4 separate regions of the Homo sapiens genome follow, and regions 1, 3 and 4 are each linked to region 2. The links are contacts of gene promoters, found by promoter capture Hi-C in blood cells and fetal thymus (Javierre and others, 2016). All regions are on one chromosome and are shown on one strand. Each heading gives the region's core, a stretch centred on a gene start or on the middle of the fragment in contact. The rest is flanking DNA. Distances are from core to core; before and after follow the strand shown.

What was found. Contacts are between HindIII fragments. The CHiCAGO score rates a contact against its expected background, and 5 or more counts as called.
Region 1: a fragment that was not itself captured here is called in contact with the fragment with the promoter of ZNF433 in region 2 in 2 of 17 cell types (erythroblasts and fetal thymus); the score reaches 7.4 in erythroblasts.
Region 3: a contact is called between a fragment that was not itself captured here and the fragment with the promoter of ZNF433 in region 2, in 1 of 17 cell types (megakaryocytes). The highest score is 5.7, in megakaryocytes.
Region 4: a contact is called between a fragment that was not itself captured here and the fragment with the promoter of ZNF433 in region 2, in 2 of 17 cell types (erythroblasts and megakaryocytes). The highest score is 6.1, in erythroblasts.

Annotation. Positions count from the first base shown.
Region 1 is chr19:11,948,178-11,950,877 of GRCh38, forward strand. It overlaps ZNF700 (zinc finger protein 700), which reads left to right. Exons shown (of 4, transcript NM_144566.3): 4 at 99-2,586. The coding sequence ends at 2,076. It also overlaps a transcript of ZNF69 not described here. Among named protein-coding and RNA genes, the nearest start is that of ZNF763, 16 kb to the right of the region's middle. RefSeq lists a silencer at 1,512-1,741. The HindIII fragment of the contact is 2,391 bases long and covers 201-2,591 here.
Region 2 is chr19:12,034,379-12,037,078 of GRCh38, forward strand. ZNF433 (zinc finger protein 433) reads right to left here and starts at 1,301. Exons shown (of 4, transcript NM_001308348.2): 1 at 1,159-1,301. The coding sequence starts at 1,161. ZNF433-AS1 (ZNF433 and ZNF878 antisense RNA 1) reads left to right here. Exons shown (of 3, transcript NR_134929.1): 2 at 1,176-1,394. RefSeq lists silencers at 836-955, 966-1,015, 1,256-1,415. The HindIII fragment of the contact is 7,472 bases long and covers 347-2,700 here.
Region 3 is chr19:11,918,003-11,920,702 of GRCh38, forward strand. It overlaps a transcript of ZNF69 not described here. Among named protein-coding and RNA genes, the nearest start is that of ZNF700, 5.8 kb to the right of the region's middle. The HindIII fragment of the contact is 3,549 bases long and covers 1-2,700 here.
Region 4 is chr19:12,144,225-12,146,924 of GRCh38, forward strand. It overlaps ZNF625 (zinc finger protein 625), which reads right to left. Exons shown (of 4, transcript NM_145233.4): 4 at 666-2,000. The coding sequence ends at 1,073. The region is part of intron 3 of ZNF625-ZNF20 (ZNF625-ZNF20 readthrough (NMD candidate)); the gene reads right to left. Among named protein-coding and RNA genes, the nearest start is that of ZNF20, 5.2 kb to the left of the region's middle. The HindIII fragment of the contact is 699 bases long and covers 979-1,677 here.

The sequences.
Region 1 (2,700 bases), core at 146-2,645, 86 kb before region 2:
TTGATGGACAGTGTTAAAAATGCAAGTGCAATACTTGTTGATTAATATAGAAGTACTTGTAAACAAACCCTTCATGATGTGTTTCTCATGTTTTACAGGAGTCTCATAGAAGAGAAAGTCAATGAAATTAAAGAAGACAGTCATTGTGGAGAAACTTTTACCCAGGTTCCAGATGACAGACTGAACTTCCAGGAGAAGAAAGCTTCTCCTGAAGTAAAATCATGTGACAGCTTTGTGTGTGCAGAAGTTGGCATAGGTAACTCATCTTTTAATATGAGCATCAGAGGTGACACTGGACACAAGGCATATGAGTATCAGGAATATGGACCAAAGCCATATAAGTGTCAACAACCTAAAAATAAGAAAGCCTTCAGGTATCGCCCATCCATTAGAACACAAGAAAGGGATCACACTGGAGAGAAACCCTATGCTTGTAAAGTCTGTGGAAAAACCTTTATTTTCCATTCAAGCATTCGAAGACACATGGTAATGCACAGTGGGGATGGAACTTATAAATGTAAATTTTGTGGGAAAGCCTTCCATTCTTTCAGTTTATATCTTATCCATGAAAGAACTCACACTGGAGAGAAACCATATGAATGTAAACAATGTGGTAAATCCTTTACTTATTCTGCTACCCTTCAAATACATGAAAGAACTCACACTGGGGAGAAGCCCTATGAATGTAGCAAATGTGATAAAGCATTTCATAGTTCTAGTTCCTATCATAGACATGAAAGAAGTCACATGGGAGAGAAGCCTTATCAATGCAAAGAATGTGGAAAAGCATTTGCATATACCAGTTCTCTTCGTAGACATGAAAGGACCCACTCTGGGAAAAAACCGTATGAATGTAAGCAATATGGGGAAGGCTTATCCTATCTTATAAGTTTTCAAACACACATAAGAATGAACTCTGGAGAAAGACCTTATAAATGTAAGATATGTGGGAAAGGCTTTTATTCTGCCAAGTCATTTCAAACACATGAAAAAACTCACACTGGAGAGAAACGCTATAAATGCAAGCAATGTGGTAAAGCCTTCAATCTTTCCAGTTCCTTTCGATATCATGAAAGGATTCACACTGGAGAGAAACCCTATGAGTGTAAGCAGTGTGGGAAAGCCTTCAGATCTGCCTCACAGCTTCGAGTGCACGGTGGGACTCACACTGGAGAGAAACCCTATGAATGTAAGGAATGTGGGAAAGCCTTCAGATCTACCTCACACCTTCGAGTGCATGGTAGGACTCATACTGGAGAGAAACCCTATGAATGTAAGGAATGTGGGAAAGCCTTCAGATATGTGAAGCACCTTCAAATTCATGAAAGGACAGAAAAACACATAAGAATGCCCTCTGGAGAAAGACCTTATAAATGTAGTATATGTGAGAAAGGCTTTTATTCTGCCAAGTCATTTCAAACACATGAAAAAACTCACACTGGAGAGAAACCCTATGAATGCAACCAATGTGGTAAAGCCTTCAGATGTTGCAATTCCCTTCGATATCATGAAAGGACTCACACTGGAGAGAAACCCTATGAGTGTAAGCAATGTGGGAAAGCCTTCAGATCTGCCTCACACCTTCGAATGCATGAAAGGACTCACACTGGAGAGAAACCCTATGAGTGTAAGCAATGTGGGAAAGCCTTCAGTTGTGCCTCAAACCTTCGAAAGCATGGTAGGACTCACACTGGAGAGAAACCCTATGAGTGTAAGCAATGTGGGAAAGCCTTCAGATCTGCCTCAAACCTTCAGATGCATGAAAGGACTCACACTGGAGAGAAACCCTATGAATGTAAGGAATGCGAAAAAGCATTCTGTAAATTCTCTTCTTTTCAAATACATGAAAGGAAGCACAGAGGAGAGAAGCCCTATGAATGTAAGCATTGTGGGAATGGATTCACATCTGCCAAGATTCTTCAAATACATGCAAGAACACACATTGGAGAGAAACACTATGAATGTAAGGAATGCGGAAAAGCATTCAATTATTTTTCTTCCTTGCATATACACGCAAGGACTCATATGGGAGAGAAGCCATATGAATGTAAGGATTGTGGGAAAGCATTCAGCTAGCCTGGTTCCTTTTATGGACATGAATAGACTCACACTGGAAGGAAGCACTATGAATGCAAGCAATGTGGCAAAACTTTCACATTTTCCAGTTCTTTTCGATATCATGAAAGGACTCACACTGGGGAGAAACCCTATCAATGTAAGCAGTGTGGGAAAGCCTTCATTCCTTTTACTTCTTTTCAATGTCATGAAAGGACTCACACGGGAGAGAAACCCTATGAGTGTATTCTAGTTCCGTTTGATATCATGAAAGGACTTACACTGGAGTGAAACCCTATGAATGTAAGCAATGTGGGAAAGCCTTCAGATGTGCCTCGCACCTTCAACGGCATGGAAGGGTTCACACTTGGGAGAAACTCTATGAATGTAAGCAGTATGGGAAAGCCTTCAGATCTGCCAAGATTCTTTGAATACAGATAATTAATGTAAACAATTATCATAAGTATACTAACATGTTATTCTTTTTAAATAAGAAGGTATAATAAAATATCCCATTGGTTTTATGTATTAGATCAAGCTTATAATGTTACATTGTTATTATTTGGACATTGTGAGTCAGTATTACCATGTGGATAAAATGCCAGGCATCTTTTTCCTCATGGAAAGTTTACTTTTTGCACCGGG
Region 2 (2,700 bases), core at 51-2,550:
CTGGAACCCTCCCACACTTGACTACAGATTAACCATCAGACAGGCTTCACTATACCTGGACAGGCCTCATTATACCCGCTTCCTTTAGGAGTTTCCACATAGCCACTGACCCACCTTCATGTTAAAACAGACATCAGCCAACTGGAAACACAGACTCTCTGTGACAATAAGAAACCAAATTACAAACAAGACCTAAGGCCATGCAAGGCAAGAGGTAAGTCAAATCTTAGAATTCACAAAATCTAAAGAAACAGGTCTTTTGTTTTGGGTGGGATGAAATCATATGACAGATACCAGACCCTCTTCACTTAAGCAATCCTTCCTACCGCCTCGAAGTTTTAGACAAAGCTTCACACTCTCCACCAACGGCCACCTTCAGAATCCCTCAACCACCTGCACCTTCTAACCCCCCTTCCACAGGTCCCGCCCTTTCTGCCAAAGGAACTTACACCTTTCCAGGCATTGATGCATGATTCTCCCTGCAATTCCTGTCTCCCTGAAATGAATAAAAACAGTCTTGAGCCGCCTCGGGACCACTTACTTCAGGCCTCCTGGGGTTGTGTTTTCCTCAGCTGAGGCCTCTCCTATTCGGCTCTGAATAAACTTCTTTAAGTTATTTTACACAGCTTGGCATTTTCCGTTAACAAATTACAAGCCAGGACTGGGTGTTTATCATTCAGGAATCTCAAAGGAACTCTAATTATTAATATATTTTTTAAAACCTATTCTGAGAAGCAAAACTATAATTGTTAACGTGTCTCAGTTTAATTTTTAAGAGGAGAAAGGCGCTACTGGGGACCCCACAGCCCACCCTCCTCCTACACAAACCCCCACACCCGAGGCGGGATCCCCCCATGACCCTCGCGTAGTCCCCGCACAATGTGGGGAGACGCGGGGCAGCGGGCGCGGAGCTGCCCAGAGAGGGCTCTGGGAACTGGGTGACAGTCACCGCGCAGGGACAGGACGAGACGCCCGGGTCCCGGCGGCCGGCCCAGCCCCACTGTGGGGCCAAGGGGACCAAGGGCCGAGCTGTCCCACGGGAAATCGGGTCCCAGACCCCGGAGTCGCCGCGGGGAGGCCCGGGTCCCACCACAGCCGGTTCCGGCCGGTTCCAACCAGCTCCTCCCCCGCCTCGGGACCCCTGGCCCGCACGCTCACCATTTCTTGCCTTTCAGGTGACTCCCACGACCAGTGCGGGTCACAGCACAGGCGACAGAAGCTATGGCAGAGGCACCTGAACCCTCTCGGAGGGGAAAGCCAGGCTCCCAACCTCAGCTCGCCGCCTGGAGCCGGGAACCGAGGAGAGCAGGGCCTTCGCCCTCCCCGATGGACACTCGGCAGGCCCCGCCCAGCGCCCCTGATTGGACGAAGCGCCGGGCCCCGCCCCCTCAGCCGTGAGTGACAATAGAAGCCCTTGGTAACGGGGCTCTGAAAACGGGTTTGACCGGATCCAGCGATAGATTCTTTAAGCCAGAGGTCTGTAACCTTTTTAGCACCAGAACCGGTTTCGTGGAAGACAGTTCTCCTACGGGGGCAGATAGTTTCGGAATGAAACTTCCACCTCAGATCAGGCATTTTATCCTCATAAGGCGAACCCAACCTAGATCCCTCGCATGTGCAGCTCACAATAGGGTTCGGGCTCCTATGACAGACTAATGCCTCTGCTGATCTGACAGGAAGCATATCTCTGGCGATAATGCCCGCTGGCTCGCCCGCCAGCCGCTCACCTCCTGCTGTGCGGACTGGTTCCTTACAGGCCATGGACCGGGGGTTGGGGACCCCTGCCATAGAGTACTGTTGAATAGAAACTTTAGCTCGTCCGGCGGTGGGCTGGGGGGGTGGGGGTAGCTCATGCCTGTAACCCCACCACTTTGGGAAGCCAAGGCAGGCAGATTGCTTGAGCCTAGGAACTTAAGCCCAGCCTGGGTAACATAGCAAAACCCCGCCTCTACAAAAAATACAAAAATTAGTCGGGCGTGGTGGTACATGTTTGCAGTCCCAGCTACTCGGAAGGCTGAAATGAGAGGATCGCCTGAGCCCAGAGAGGTCGAGGCCACAGTGAGCTGTGATTTTACCAGCCTGGATGTCAGAGTGAGACCCTGTCTCCGAAAAAAAAAAAAAAAAAAAAGACAGGGAATTGCAGTGGAGTTTAATATACATAGAGCCGGCTAAATGAAAGAGAAGAGTTTTATTTTTATTCAATTCTGTCTCCCTAAAAAATGGGAGGCTAGGTTTTGTTTTTTTGGTTTTTTTTTGAGACGGAATCTCTCTGTCGCCCATGCTGGAGTGCAGTGGCGCAATCTCGGCTCAGTGCAACCTCCGCCTCCCGGGTTCAAGCGATTCTCCTGCCTCAACCTCCTGAGTAGCTGGGATTACAGGCATGCGCCACCATGCCCGGCTAATTTTTGTATTTTTAGTAGAGACGGGGTTTACCATGTTGGTCAGGCTGGTCTCAAACTCCTGACCTCATGATCCACCCGCCTCGGCCTCCCAAAGTGCTGGGATTACAGGCCTGAGCCCCCGCACCCGGCCGAGGCTAGGGTTTTAAAGATAATTTGGTGAGCAGAAGGCTGGAAAATGGGGAATGCTGATTGGTCGCGAAAAGGATATCACAGGAAGTCTCAGCTGTCTTCTTGCACTGAGTCAGTTCTTGGCTAGGGGCCACTGGAGCAGGTGAGCCAGTTTATTGGTCTGTGTGAT
Region 3 (2,700 bases), core at 8-2,507, 120 kb before region 2:
CTCGAACTCCTGACCTCAGGTGATCCACCCGCCTCGGCCTCCCAAAGTGCTGAGATTACAGGCATGAGCCACCATGCCCAGCCTATCTCTTGATCTTATTGACAATGCTTTTCTTGTTTTTATTCCTAACTGGAAATACAACACAAAGTTTTACACATTGGGAAATAATTGCTGGGTTGTAGATTATGGGTAAATTCAAATTTACTAGGAAATGTCAGTACAGTATGAATGTAACTTATGAATTAACCATCTCACCTTTCATGCACGTGCCTTTATTCTTGTGATTTGCCAACACTTTGAATTATCTAACTCACTTTTCGTCGCCCATTTACTCTTAAACAGAATCTCTGTGTGATTATTTATTGCTTTTTATTTGTTGCCATTGGTTGAGCATTTTTCTTATATAATCTTTCATCTTCTGTGTAGCAGTATCCAGTCATCCTCTTACATTTGACTAATTTGTAGTTATCTCTCTTTTTCTCCTCGTTTTCTTTTATTTTAATTTGAGACATCCTTGCTCTGTAGCCCAGCTGGAGTGCAGTGTTCTGGTCACTCACTGCAGCATCAAGCTCCTGGGCTTGAGCAATCCTCCCACCTCGGCTTTCTGCCCAGCTAATTTTCAAAAATTTTTTGTAGAGACAAGGGTGTCACGGTTTTGCCCAGGCTGGTCTCGAACTCCCGGGCTCAATCAATCCTCTTGCCTCGGCCTCCCAAAGTGCTAGGATTGCAGACATGATCCACCATGCTCAGCAATTAGGGTTTTTTTTTTAAAACCAAGATATCTGTACATGTTTCTGACAAATATTTTATTTAAAATCTTTAACAACTGCATACTAACCAAGGTTATTCTGTTTTTCATTTTCTGTTTTCCATTTTCATTATGATTACTTGTTTTTCTTTTTTTTTTTTTTGAGACGGAGTCTCGCTGTGTCGCCCAGGCTGGAGTGCAGTGGTGCGATCTCCGCTCACTGCAACCTCCGCCTCCCGGGTTCACGCCATTCTCCTGCCTCAGCCTCCTGAGTAGCTGGGACTACAGGCGCCCGCCACCACGCCCGGCTAATTTTTTGTATTTTTAGTAGAGACGGGGTTTCATCGTGTTAGCCAGGATGGTCTCAATCTCCTGCCCTCGTGATCCGCCTACCTTGGCCTCCCAAAGTGCTGGGATTACAGGCGTGAGCCACCGCGCCTGGCCCCTTGTTTTTCTTTTTTATTCTCATTTTTTCCTAGATAATTACAATACTTTTCCATGTAGTGGCTCTGGCAGCATTTTCATCCTTCATGCAATCATACAGCTACCTCGATGTCCCTTCTCTCTGCCATTCTGAAATTAGACCTCACTCCTTTGTGACTCTTGCTCCCCATCTGCTATGTGATAAAGTCCTGTCTGATTACATCGTCTCCAAAGCCTCTTTTTGGGCTTCTGTTTACCCCTTGGCGTGTCTTGTATTTACTCTCCTCAAAATATATACTTGGAGGCCAGGTGTGGTGGCTCACTCCTGTAATCCCAGTATTTGGGAGGCCGAGGCATGAGGATCCCTTGAGCCCAGGAGTTTAAAACCAGCCTGGGCCACACAGGGAGACCCTGTCTCAAAAACAAAACTTATACTTGCAAGCCCTAAACCCCAACATGGTCATATTTGGACACGAACCCTTTAGGAGATCACATACATTTATAAAGGAGGGCTCTCACAATGGGATGAGTAAGAAGAGAGAGAGAACTCTGTCTCTCCAGCATGTGAGGACACAGCAAGAAGTCATCTAGCTGCAAGCCAGGAAGACACTCTTCACTAGGAACAAAATTGCTGGCAGCAAGATGTTGGACTCCCGAAGCTCCAGAACTGTGAGAAAAAAATTCTGCTGTTTAAGAAACTGAGTCCATGGTATTTTGTTATACCAGCCTCAGCTAAGTCATCCCAAGAGTCCTCACATAAATCATATACTATCGTATATGATATCGTGCTGCATTTGGATCTACCTGGAATGTCTCCAAATCTTCTACTTTTCCTCTTGGACCCATTGTGAGAATAGGTGTGCTTCATAGGCAACTACTGGTGATAGTAGTGATAGCCCATAACGACTTGGGACAAAAAAGGAACTTTTACTTTTTTTTTTTTTTTTTTCTTCCTGAGATGGAGTTTGTGCTCTGTTGTCCAGGCTGGAGTGCAATGGCGTGATCTCAGCTCACTGCAACTTCTGCCTCCTGGGTTCAAGCGATTCTACTGCCTCTGCCTCCAGAATAGCCAGGATCACAGGTGTGCACTACCATGTCCGGATAATTTTTGTATTGGTAGTTAGAGACAAGGTTTCACCATGTTGGCCAGGCTGGTCTTGAACTCTTGATATCAGGTGATCCACTCACTTTGGCCTCCCAAAGTTCTTGGATTACAGGCGTGAGCTACTATGCTCGCCCTGTTTTATGTATATAAATATGTGTGTGTGTATTTCTCTTTTTAATAAAATAGAGACTAGTTCTCACTATGTTGCCCAAGGTGGTCATAGGCCAAACTTTTGGGCTCAAGCAATCTACCTGCCTCGACCACTCAACGTGCTGGGATTAAGGCATGGGAAACTGTGCCAGGCCAAATGAAAGAGACTTAGTGGGAGGCTGGGCGCGGTGGTTCACACCTGTAATCCCAGCACTTTGGGAGGCTGAGGGGGGTGCATCACCTGAGCTCAGGAGTTCAAGACCAGCCTGGACAA
Region 4 (2,700 bases), core at 78-2,577, 110 kb after region 2:
GAGTGAGACTCTGTCTCAAAAAAAAAAAAAAAAAAAAAAAAAAAAAAAAAAAAGAGTTTAGAGGCTGGGCATGGTGGCTCATGCCTGTAAAGCCAGCTACTCGGGAGACTGAGGCAGAAGAATCGCTTGAACCCAGGAGGCAGAGGTTGCAGTGGGCTGAGAATGTGCAACTGCACTCCAGCCTGGGAGACAGAGCCCGACTCTGTCTCAAAAAAAAAAAAAAAGAAAACTCGTGAGAACGAATGGCATAAAATACGTAGTGTACCCGATAGCCAGCCATTTATTATAGGATATTTTTGAATAGGAACTTTAGCCTTTTGTTTTGATAAAGCTTTCTGAGGCAGTGAGTCTGACAATGGCACTTCCGTTATCCCTTTAGTGAGTTTCTTAAAATGAGGGCTTGCCACTTAGGTATTGGGCTTTCAATAGGAGGGAAAAGATTTTTCTGACCTTCCTGTATATATATACCTGCCACTTTGCTGGGCTAACCTTATTATTATTATTATTATTTTGAGACGGAGTCTCACTCTGTCACCCAGGCTGGAGTGCAGTGGCGCAATCTTAGCTCACTGCAACCTCCACCTCCTGTATTCAAGCAATTCTCCTGCCTCAGCCTCCTGAGTAGCTGGGACTACAGGCGCCACCACACCTGGCTAATTTTTGTATTTTTTAGTAGAGATGGGGTTTCACCATATTGACCAGGCTGGTCTCGAACTACTGACCTCGTGGTCCGCCTGCCTCGGCCTCCCAAAGTGCTGGGATTATAGGCATGAGCCACTGCACCCGGCCAAACCTCGTATTTTTTTTATGACAGAACTGTCTTAAGGTCTTACTGGAGGTGTGTCTCTCTTAAGAGTTATTTCCAACTCTGTGTCCTAGGTATCTGAGTGAGGCCCCAGCTAAACTACTCCCAAAAATTTTTGCTCCTGGGCTACTGGCATTTATTTCTGAATGCTGTCAAATGACAGTGACTGCAGAAGCTTCAGAATAATTTTGCGATGGTTCCCATGATTTGAGGGAAACACATTTTTACCATGATTGGATTCGGTGGCTTCTAGGAATCTTATGTGAATTAAGCAATCTTCTCGCCTTGGCCTTTCGAAGTGTTGGAGCTACAGGGTTTTTCTCCAGTGTGAGTCCTTTCATGGATTTTAACGCTCGAGGCACATCCAAAGGCTTTACCACATTGTTTACATTCATAGGGTTTCTCTCCAGTGTGAGTCCTTCCATGTGTTCGAAGGTGCGAGGCAGATCTGAAGGCTTTCCCACATTGCTTACATTCATAGGGCTTCTCTCCAGTGTGAGTTCTTTCATGATATCGAACGGAATTGAAAGAAACAAAGGCTTTCCCACACTGTTTACATTCATACGGCTTCTCCCCAGTGTGAGTTATTTTATGTGCATGGAGGCATGTGGAACTATGGAATGCTTTCCCACACTCACTGCATTCATAAGGCTTCTCTCCAGTGTGAGTTCTTTCATGTATTCGAAGGCTACCAGAATGACTAAAGGCTTTACCACACTGTTTACATTCATATGGTTTCTCTCCAGTGTGAGTTCGTTTGTGGATAAGATACAAACTGAGACACATCAAGGCTTTCCCACAAAAGTTACATTTGTAGGGTCCATCTCCACTGTGCATTATCCTGTGTCTTCGAATGCTTGAACGGGAAATAAAGCTTTTTCCACATTCCTCACAATCATAAGGTTTCCCCCCAGTGTGAGCCCATTCATGTGTTCGAAAGTAGGGGAGATCACTGAAGGCTTTCTTACAGTATGTACATTTATATGGCTTCTGTCCATATTCCTGATACTCATATGGCTTGTGTCCAGTGTCAGCTCTGTGGTGCCTATTAAGGGATGCATGACCCACGCTGACTTCTCCACATGATTTTACTCGGGGAGTTTTCTTCTTCAGCATGTCATCTGGAACCTGGGTCAAAATTTCTCCATGCTGATGATCTTTCTTACTTTCTAAGAGTCTCTCTCCCATAAGACCTCTGTGAACAATGAGAAGTATATCATAATGGGTTCCTTTATCACTGATTTGATATTCATTAACAAGTCATTGCACTTGTATTTCTAACACTGTACAGCAATGTGTAGGCTTTCTGCCCTGTCTGAACATGAACAGACCACACATGCTCTACAAGATGGCCCAGCTATACCTGTTATCAAGAAAGATAATATTGATATAGGGCTTCTTAGTACTTTTTAAACATTTTTTGAGATAGGGTCTCACTCTGTCATCCAGGCTGGAGTGCGGTGGTGAGATCTCAGCTCACTGCAACCTCCATCTCCCGATCTGAAGCCGTCCTGCCACTTCAGCCTCCTGATTACCTGAGGCTACAAGCATACCATCGTGCCTGGCTAATTTTTGTATATTTGCTAGAGATGGGGTTTTGTCACATTTCCCTGGCTGGTCTCAAACTCCTAGACTCAAGCAATCTGCCCACCTCAGCCTCTTAAAGCATTAGGATTACAGGCATACACCTGGGCGCCCGGCCAACACTATTTTCAGGTAAACTATTTTACAAGTACTAACTGTCTTTGTCAATTTTATTGCTTCTGAGTCAGGGTCTTGCCCTTTAACCCAGGCTAGAGTGTAATGGTGCTATCATGGCCGAGTGTAGCCTCAAACTCTTCAGCTCAAGCAATCTCTGACCTGAACCTCCCAAAGGGCTGGATTATAGGCTTAAG